Regions from separate parts of the Homo sapiens genome. Here all the other regions are linked to region 2. The links are contacts of gene promoters, found by promoter capture Hi-C in human tissues and cell types (Jung and others, 2019). All regions are on one chromosome and are shown on one strand. Each heading gives the region's core, a stretch centred on a gene start or on the middle of the fragment in contact. The rest is flanking DNA. Distances are from core to core; before and after follow the strand shown. Region 1 holds the start of LRRC26 (leucine rich repeat containing 26). Region 2 has its middle 11 kb from the start of FBXW5. Region 3 holds the start of ANAPC2 (anaphase promoting complex subunit 2).

What was found. The method cuts DNA at HindIII sites, captures the fragments that hold promoters and counts their contacts. A contact is called where the count stands out against the background at its distance.
Region 1: a contact is called between the fragment with the promoter of LRRC26 here and a fragment that was not itself captured in region 2, in 3 of the 25 tissues and cell types used here (H1 embryonic stem cells, dorsolateral prefrontal cortex and mesenchymal stem cells).
Region 3: the fragment with the promoter of ANAPC2 here is called in contact with a fragment that was not itself captured in region 2 in 12 of the 25 tissues and cell types used here (H1 embryonic stem cells, IMR-90 fibroblasts, dorsolateral prefrontal cortex and 9 more).

The regions. Positions count from the first base shown.
Region 1 is chr9:137,168,581-137,171,307 of GRCh38, forward strand. LRRC26 (leucine rich repeat containing 26) reads right to left here and starts at 1,471. Exons shown (of 2, transcript NM_001013653.3): 1 at 691-1,471; 2 at 178-605. The coding sequence starts at 1,363. The coding sequence ends at 274. It overlaps TMEM210 (transmembrane protein 210), which reads right to left. Exons shown (of 4, transcript NM_001282477.2): 4 at 2,278-2,584. The coding sequence ends at 2,395. It overlaps MIR3621 (microRNA 3621), which reads right to left and starts at 690; the gene lies at 606-690. It overlaps GRIN1 (glutamate ionotropic receptor NMDA type subunit 1), which reads left to right. Exons shown (of 20, transcript NM_007327.4): 20 at 1-176. RefSeq lists silencers at 94-203, 444-963, 1,124-1,183. The HindIII fragment of the contact is 5,034 bases long and covers 1,268-2,727 here.
Region 2 is chr9:136,932,749-136,935,460 of GRCh38, forward strand. No RefSeq gene overlaps it. Among named protein-coding and RNA genes, the nearest start is that of FBXW5, 11 kb to the right of the region's middle. The HindIII fragment of the contact is 7,838 bases long and covers 1-2,712 here.
Region 3 is chr9:137,187,252-137,189,951 of GRCh38, forward strand. ANAPC2 (anaphase promoting complex subunit 2) reads right to left here and starts at 1,309. Exons shown (of 13, transcript NM_013366.4): 1 at 1,165-1,309; 2 at 230-852. The coding sequence starts at 1,281. SSNA1 (SS nuclear autoantigen 1) reads left to right here and starts at 1,425. Exons shown (of 3, transcript NM_003731.3): 1 at 1,425-1,527; 2 at 1,815-2,014; 3 at 2,556-2,700. The coding sequence starts at 1,476. The coding sequence ends at 2,663. RefSeq lists an enhancer at 1,217-1,436 and a silencer at 1,467-1,816. The HindIII fragment of the contact is 18,290 bases long and covers 1-2,700 here.

The DNA of each region.
Region 1 (2,727 bases), core at 221-2,720, 240 kb after region 2:
GTGACCGGCCCGCCACCTTGTACAGAACCAGCACTCCCAGGGCCCGAGCGCGTGCCTTCCCCGTGCGGCCCGTGCGCAGCCGCGCTCTGCCCCTCCGTCCCCAGGGTGCAGGCGCGCACCGCCCAACCCCCACCTCCCGGTGTATGCAGTGGTGATGCCTAAAGGAATGTCACGCAGTTTTCGGTCTGTGTCGCTTGTTGACGCCGGCAGACAGTGTAAAGGGAGGGCAAAGGCATGGGGGAAGCTTCGAGCGCTCCAGGCGGCCGCGGCCGCTCAGGCTTGGGCGGCAGCGGCGGGGCTCCCCGGGTCCGCGGGCGAGGCACAGCCGTGGGGGTCGGGATCGGGGTTCGGGTCTGGCGGTCTCGGCGGGCGGAGGGCGGCGGTGCGGAGGCGGCGGCGGCGCGCACGGCAGGCGGTGAGCCCAGAGCCCAGCGCCAGGCAGGAAGCCAGGCTGACGAGGAAGGAGGCCGGCCCGAGCGTGTAAACCACGGCCAGGTCCCGCAGGGCGAGCGGCTGCGCGCAATGGCTAAAGGCGGCGTCGGAAAAGGCAGTCAGGGGGCTGAGCGTCAGGCGTCCCGGCCACACGCAGAGCACCGTCTCGGCCTCTGTGGGACACAGACAAAGGCGCGGCGTCAGGTGGCGGCTGCCGCACCGCCCTGCAGACCCCGACCCGCGTCCCCAGCAGCTCACCTGACGCGGGCAGCGGGTGCCGGCGCAGCCAGGCGCAGAGCGGGCGCAGCGCGCACCCGCAGCCCCAAGGGTTGCCGCGCAGGTGCAGCGCGTCTAGAGCGGGCAGGCGGCCCAGCAGCCCCGGCGCGAGTGCCGCCAGCTCGTTGTCCTGCAGGCTGAGTGAGCGCAGCAGCGGGAGCGCGCCTAGCGCCGCGGGCTCCAGGCGCGCCAGCCGGTTGCCGGCCAATGAGAGGTTGCGCAGCGCGCGCAGCGGCGCGAAAGTCCCTGGTGCCAGTGCTTCCAGCTGGTTGGCGCTCAGGTCCAGCAGCTGCAGCGCGCCCAGGCCCCAGAAGGCTCGCACATGCACCGAGTGCAGCCCGTTCTCGCGCAGGTCCAGGCGCTGTAGCGCGCCCGCTCCCGCGAAGGCACCTGGCGGCAGCGCACGGACGCGGTTGTGGTCCAGCAGCAGCGCGCGCAGGCGCAGGCTCAGGCCCGGGGGCACGGCGGGCAGCGAGAGTGCCGAGCAGCTGGCCAGGCCTCCCGGCACGCACGTGCACACCTCGGGGCAGTCCGGGGCGCCCAGGGACCCCGAGGGCGAGGCCGTGGCCGACACCTGGGCCCAGACAGGCCAAGGCGACAGCAGCAGCAACAGCAGCAGCAGCGGCCGAGGCCGCGACCAGGAAGGGCCCCGCATGGGGGCAGCCCCCCCGCCCCCGGCACCCGCGGTGGGAGGCCCGCTGCCTGTGCGTCCCTGGAGCCCGTCGTCCGCGGAGCCCGTTCCTGCGGCGCCTGCACAAATATTAACTCTCTGGCCCGAGCTCAGGCAGTTCCTGTCCCACGGCTGGATCCACGCTTGGGGCGGGGGCAGGGCAAACAGCCAACGCCCGGCACCGCCAGCCACCTGTCCGGGAGCTCCAAACTACTCTTGGCTCAGCGCCGGCCACAGCGCTATCAAGACCACCTCACCCCGCCTTGTCCACCACCGGGCGCCCGCCGAGCCCTGACCTGAGCAGCAGGACACCGCCCACCTGCACCCGCCCAGCTCACGGCTGCAACAGGCGCCCACACGCAATGCAACCCAGAGGTCCTGCTCCTCACCCGTCTCGACCCCACCCAGGCTCCGCAAAGTGATCCCAACGTGCACATGCGGAGTGGCCCCCACGCAGGGATGGTCCCATTCCCATGCTGGATAGGGCCTGGGTTGGAGACAGGCCTTGGGGTGGAGGGAGACAGCACACCCGAGGCAGGAGAGGCGTGCCTGCCCCACCCCTCCCCCCCAGGACTCTCCTGGGATAGAGGTACAGACCAGTGCAGTGGGGCAGGGGTATCAGCCCAAGTCCTGCTGTTAAACCCAGCGCCCTTCACAGTTGCCAGTTGCAGGTCCTGTTCTAGGGGCTTTCCAAAGCTGGGTGCAGGAAGGAGCCGGGCTGACCAGCTGTGGCAGAGAAGGTGGAAACATTAGGGGTATGGCTTACTGCCAGGGGGCAGAGGAACAGGGGAACTTGCTGTGGGGCCTGGGCACTCTGCTTTGATGAGACCCATATGCGCGTGCACCCCCCATGATGCAGCCGTGAGGGGTGTGAGGGCCTGCAGGGAGGACGGTGCACAACCACTAAACAAGCTTTAATTCCCCTCCCCCAGCTGCCCTCAGGAGGGCCTGCAGGGAGGACAGTGCACAGCCACTAAATACGCTTTAATTCCCCTCCCCCAGCTGCCCTCAGCCCTCTACTCAGGTGGTAGGGGCGGGGGTGGTGGCGGCTCCTCTGAAGAAGCCTCCATGGGGATGGCCACAAGGCTCTGATCCTCTAGTGGTGGCACCAGGGAGACCTCCAGGTCAGCGTCCATTAGCTGGGACTCCACGTAAACCGGGTGCAGGTCCATGAGATCTTCCTGGACCCCAAAATTCTCCACCAACCTGCATGACGGGCCGGGTCATCACGAGCTGGTAGAGTCCTTGTTCCCCCAGGACAGGCTGGCGTCTGGGACAGTGCACCCCCACAAAGGGCCTCCCTTGGGACAGCACACCTCCTCTTCCAGGGACAGCACCCCTCCTCCTCC
Region 2 (2,712 bases), core at 72-2,571:
ATGTTCATGTGGTTTTTCTCCTGTACAGTTAATATGGTGACTTATGTTGATCTTCAAATATTGGACCAACCTTGCATTCCTGGAATAAACCCTACCTGGTTATGGTGCACTATCACTTTTATATATTGCTGGATTTGATTTAAATTTTTTTTGAGGATTTTGCATCTCTGTTCATGAAGGACATTTGTCTATAATTGTCTTTTGTATTGTCTTTGTCTGGTTTTTGGTATCAGGGTGCTGTGGGCAGAAAATCGAGACCAGGAGTGGGTTTGTTGTCATCACAAATGCTCGAAAAATGTGGAAGCAGCTTTGGAACTGGGTAGTAGGCAGAGGCCAGAAGAGTTTGGAGGAGCGAGAAGAAGCTTAGATGCCATTCATGGAGTGTAAAGGGTGATTTTGTTGAGGGCTCAGAAGAGAACTGTAGGGAAAGTCTGAAGCTTCTTTGAGAATACTTAAAGTGGTCATGGTCAGAATGTTGGTAGAAATCTGGACAGTGAAGGCCATTCTGGTAAGATCTCAGACAGAAATGAAGAACAAGGTGTCAGAAACTGGAGGAATGACCATCCTAGTTATAAAGTGGCAGAGAACGTGGCTGAACGGTGTCCATGCCCAGTCCTTCCTTTGTGGAAGGAACTGGGATATCTGGCTGAAGAAATACTCAGGGTGTGGCATGTTTTCTTCTAACTGCAGAGAGTAAGATGTGAGAAGAGAAATGAATTAAAGATGGAATTTATAATTAACAAGGAAAGAATAGGGATCGTAAGGATTTTCAGCCTGCCCATTTAGGGAGTAAATAAGATGTCTTTAGGAGAACAGACCAAGTGTGTGGCCAAGCAACTTAGTATGGACAGAACGAAGCCAGAGGCTGCTCATCAGGACAGTGGGAAAATGGCCCCAGAGGCATTTCAGATTCCTGGTGCTGCCCCTCCCACCACAGGCCCAGAGTGCCAAGGCCTTTGGGAAGGAAATATGTCAAAAGAGAGGTGTAGGGTGTGGACCTTAGAGCCTGCTGGCCAGGGCCACCCCAAGTCTTGGCTGTCTGCATTCCAGTGCAGACCCCCTAAGCCACTCCAGCCTGTCTCATGTGGACCCAGGGAAGGTACAAGTCATAAGCCTTGGTGGTGTCGATTCTGCAGCCTTGCAGGAGCTGTGGGGACATGGCTTCATCCACTGGGTGTCACACAGGATGTCACAAGTCTCCAGGCCAGAGCCATGGCAGAGAGCCCACACTAGGGCAATATGTGGTAGAGCCTTGGGGATAAGGCCACCCCTGAGACCCCAGAACTGGAGAGCCTCTAGTGTTCATTGCCAGCCTGGGAGAGCTGAAGGCACGAGACTCCAACCTAAGAGAGTTGTGTGAGGTCTGAGCCCAGCAAAGCTCTAGGGGTGAGGTTCCCAAGAGCCTGAGGACCCAGCCGCACCCCACGGCGTGCAGAAGGCAGGATTTGGAGTCAAAGATGATGATTCTCAAGCCTTAGGATTTAGTAGTATTCTCCCTGTTGGACTTTGGACATGCTTTTGAGGCCTGTTATTCCTTTCCTCTTTATAATTTATCCCTTTGGAATGGAAATGTCTGTTCTATGCCTGCCCTACCATTGTATTTTGGAAGCACGTAACTTGTTTAATTTCACAGGCTCATAGTGGAGGGAAAGTTGCCTCAGGATGAATCATGCCTTGAGTCTCACCCATGTTTGATTTAGACGAGACTCTGGGCTTTGGACTTTTGAATGGGGCCATTGGGATGGAATGAGTATATTTTGTATGTGAAAAGAACATGAATTGGTGTAGGGGCAGGGATGGAATGCTACGGTTTGAATGTTTTTATCTCCCAAACTCATGTTAATATTTAATTGTCATTGTAACAGTGTTAAGAGGTGGGATCCTTAAAGGGTGATTAGGTCAGAGGGAAGATAGGCTGGAATTGGTGCTGGTATAATAAGATGAGCTTGGCCCTCTCTTGCCCTTCCACCTTCCACAGTGACACAACAAGAAGGATTGCACCAGACGCTGGCACCTTACTCTGGGACTTCCCAGCCCCCAGAACTGTGAGCCAATAAATTTCTATTCCTTATAAATTATCTGGTCTCAGGTATTCGGTTATAGCAGCAAAAACAGACTAAGAGAAGACAATGTTTGTGCCCCCCCCACCCAATTTCCTGTGTTGAAACATAATCTCCAATGTGATGGTACTTGGAGGCAGGACTTTTTAGATCATGAGGGTGCAACACTTGTGGATGGGATTCGTGCCCTTAAAAAGAGGCTGCAGCCCAGTATGGTGGCTCACGCCGTAATCCCAGCACTTACGGAAGCCGAGGCAGGCGGATCACTTCAGCCTAGGAGTTCAAAACCAGCCTGGACAACATGGCAAAACCCCATCTCTACAAAAAATATAAAAATTAGCTGGGTGTGGTGGTGCATGCCTGTGGTCCCAGCTACTTGAGAGGCTGAGGTGGGAGGATCACTTGAGCCTGAAGGTCGAAGCTGCAGTAAGTCATGACTGTACTGGTGACTCAAGGCTGGGCAACAGAGTGAGAACCTGTCTTTTTTTTTTTTTTTTTTTTTGAGATGGAGTCTTGCTCTGTCGCCCAGGCTGGAGTGCAGTGGCGCGATCTCGGCTCACTGCAAGCTCCGCCTCCTGGGTTCACGCCATTCTGCCTCAGCCTCCCGAGTAGCTGGAACTTGGTCTCGATCCTCCTGACCTTGTGATCTGCC
Region 3 (2,700 bases), core at 59-2,558, 250 kb after region 2:
ATAGGGCCTTACCAGGGTCAAGGCATGAATCTGTGGGACTGAAGGTGAGTGACAGAAGAGAGACACCTGTGTCCAGGACACGCTGCACAGGAATCCCTGGGACTCTCTCTCTGTCATGTTCCTGGTTATCAGGACGGCTCACCAGCTTTCTGCTGAGGCCAGCTGGACCCAGGGGAGCAGCGGGGAACCAGAAGGAGCAAGGGCATGGCCATCGGGACAGACTACTCACAAGACCTGGCTGAGCTGATGGAACTGCTCCAGAGCCTGGCGACACCAGCACTGTTGCTTGTCACTGCTGCACCCTGCACACAGCGGGCTCTGCAGGAGCCGGTAGTACCGGCGACGGGCATACCGGCTGTCCAGCTCCCCTTCCAGTTCCGGGTCTGTGCCCCCTTCCCCCTTCCTCTTACTCTGCATATAGACTCTCAAGAAGCACCCATACAGACGCTGGATCATCTCTTGGAAGGTTCTGGGGGTGCTAAAGAACAAGACTCCGCGCAACATAGTGTGGACTTCTTCTCGCAGCCCCTGAGCACCAGTGCCCATCAGCAAGCCCAGGCGAGTCCATTTCTCCAGCAGCTCTAGGCTACGCAGGTAGGGATCCAGGCGGCTCTCCAGCAGGCCAAAAGCGTCAAGGAGTAGCAAAAGGCACTGGGGCTCATCCGCAGAGTTCTCGCATTGGGAGATGGCATTCCAGAACTCAGGGGAGATGTTGGCCTGCAGATCGTTCTGCAGCACCTCCACGAACCACTCCTCCAGGACCGAGTGTAGCCCGTGGCCCCTCAGAACCTCCACCGCCGCCCGGAGCTCCTCTTCCTTTGGCGGGACTGCACCGCTGGTCCGGGAAGACACCTGGGGTGCAGAAAACCGTGAGGCGAGGGGAACACAACATAGAGGTGGGGAGAGGCGGGGAAGGGAAGAAGCTGAGGGGGAGGCTGCAAAAACTCCGCTGCCCCCTGTCCGTGCTGCCCGGACGTTGGGCCGAAGCTATGGAAGGGCTGTCAGCGGAGCTGAACGAAACGAAACGGAAAGGTGGTGGAAAATGGCAGGACAGGACAGAGGCGGATGATGGACAGAGCCGTATGAACCCGAGGGTAGCGGCCCCAAAGCGCGTACGGTCCCGGAAACTCCGCGCGGGGCCGCCCCTCTCTTCCCAGGCCTCACCAGCCCCAGCGCAGCCGGCGGCACCAGGCCGGTGCTCACGGTGTTCCAGGCCACTAACAACTCCTGTCCGGGCCGGGAGTCGCTGTCCCCCTCCGCCACCACAACTGCCGCCGCCATCTGCACCCACCGACTCCGAGATTCGCTCGGCGCGGCGCGCGGCGATGACGCACGTCTGCACGCGCAGCCATGACGCGCACAAGGCGCTCAGCGATGACGCGCTAGTTCGGCGCGCCGTGGGGGAGTCGTGCGCAGGCGCGGACAGCGCTGCTTCCGCGGCGGTTGGGGTGGTGGGGCCCCGGGCGGCGTTGACCATGACCCAGCAGGGCGCGGCGCTGCAGAACTACAACAACGAGCTGGTCAAGTGTGAGCGGCGCAGCCGGGACGGGGAGGTCGGGAGGGCCGCAGGGCCGGGTTCCCGGCTCGCAGCGGGGTGCCCCTGGACCCGCCTCGCTGCGGGCATCGCGCGGCTGAGCAGAGCCCTCCGTGCCGGAGGCCGGGTGTCCGTGGCCCGAGCCCTCGCTGGCTCGCAGGCCCCGCGCCGGGCGCTCGGGGGTGGTGCCTGACTCTGGCTTCCTCGGGTGGAAGGAGGCCCGCCCTCCGCCGCCGCGCTCCTGCCCTGGGCCCACAGCGCCGCCCCTCCCGGCCCCCAGGCATAGAGGAGCTGTGCCAGAAGCGGGAGGAGCTGTGCCGGCAGATCCAGGAGGAGGAGGACGAGAAGCAGCGGCTGCAGAATGAGGTGAGGCAGCTGACAGAGAAGCTGGCCCGCGTCAACGAGAACCTGGCACGCAAGATTGCCTCTCGCAACGAGTTCGACCGGACCATCGCGGAGACGGAGGCCGCCTACCTCAAGGTGGAGCTCGGGAGGCCAGGCCGAGCATCAGGGGATAGGCACGGCAGGGGTGTTGCCACGGCAAGGCGTCAGGACCGGCTGGGGCTCCCGGCTGTGGGCAGTCTGTGCCTCGCTGGCATTTCGGGCAGGGGCAGCGTGGCCAGGCCCATTGAGGAACCCAGGCTGCTGTGGGAGTGACTGTGGGGCTGTCTGTGGGGCCTGGGGCATCCTGGGTCCTGGTCTTTATCCGGTTCTCGCTAGCCATGTGGTTATTTCTGCTCAGTGTGAAGAGCCAGGTCTTGGGCAGAGCACCCAGCACGGGCCAGTGCTAACCCAGCCTGGCTTTGAGGGTGGAGAGGAAGTGTTTTGGGTCAGATTCCGGAGGGAAGAGGGCCCTGCCACCCCGTCTGCCAGTCCCCTTGGGCTTCCGCCTTCCCCCACACAGGATCCCTTGGCTACAGCACCCCCAGCCAGGTCCCAGCACCTGAGTGTGAGGACAGCTGGGGCTTAGGACCTTACCAACAGGTGAACATTAACAACCTTCTCACTTCTCTGGCCCCAGATCCTGGAGAGCTCCCAGACTTTGCTCAGCGTTCTCAAGAGGGAAGCTGGGAACCTGACCAAGGCTACAGCCCCAGACCAGAAAAGTAGCGGCGGCAGGGACAGCTGACCAGACCACGGGCAGGGCCTGCCTCCGTGTGCCCCTC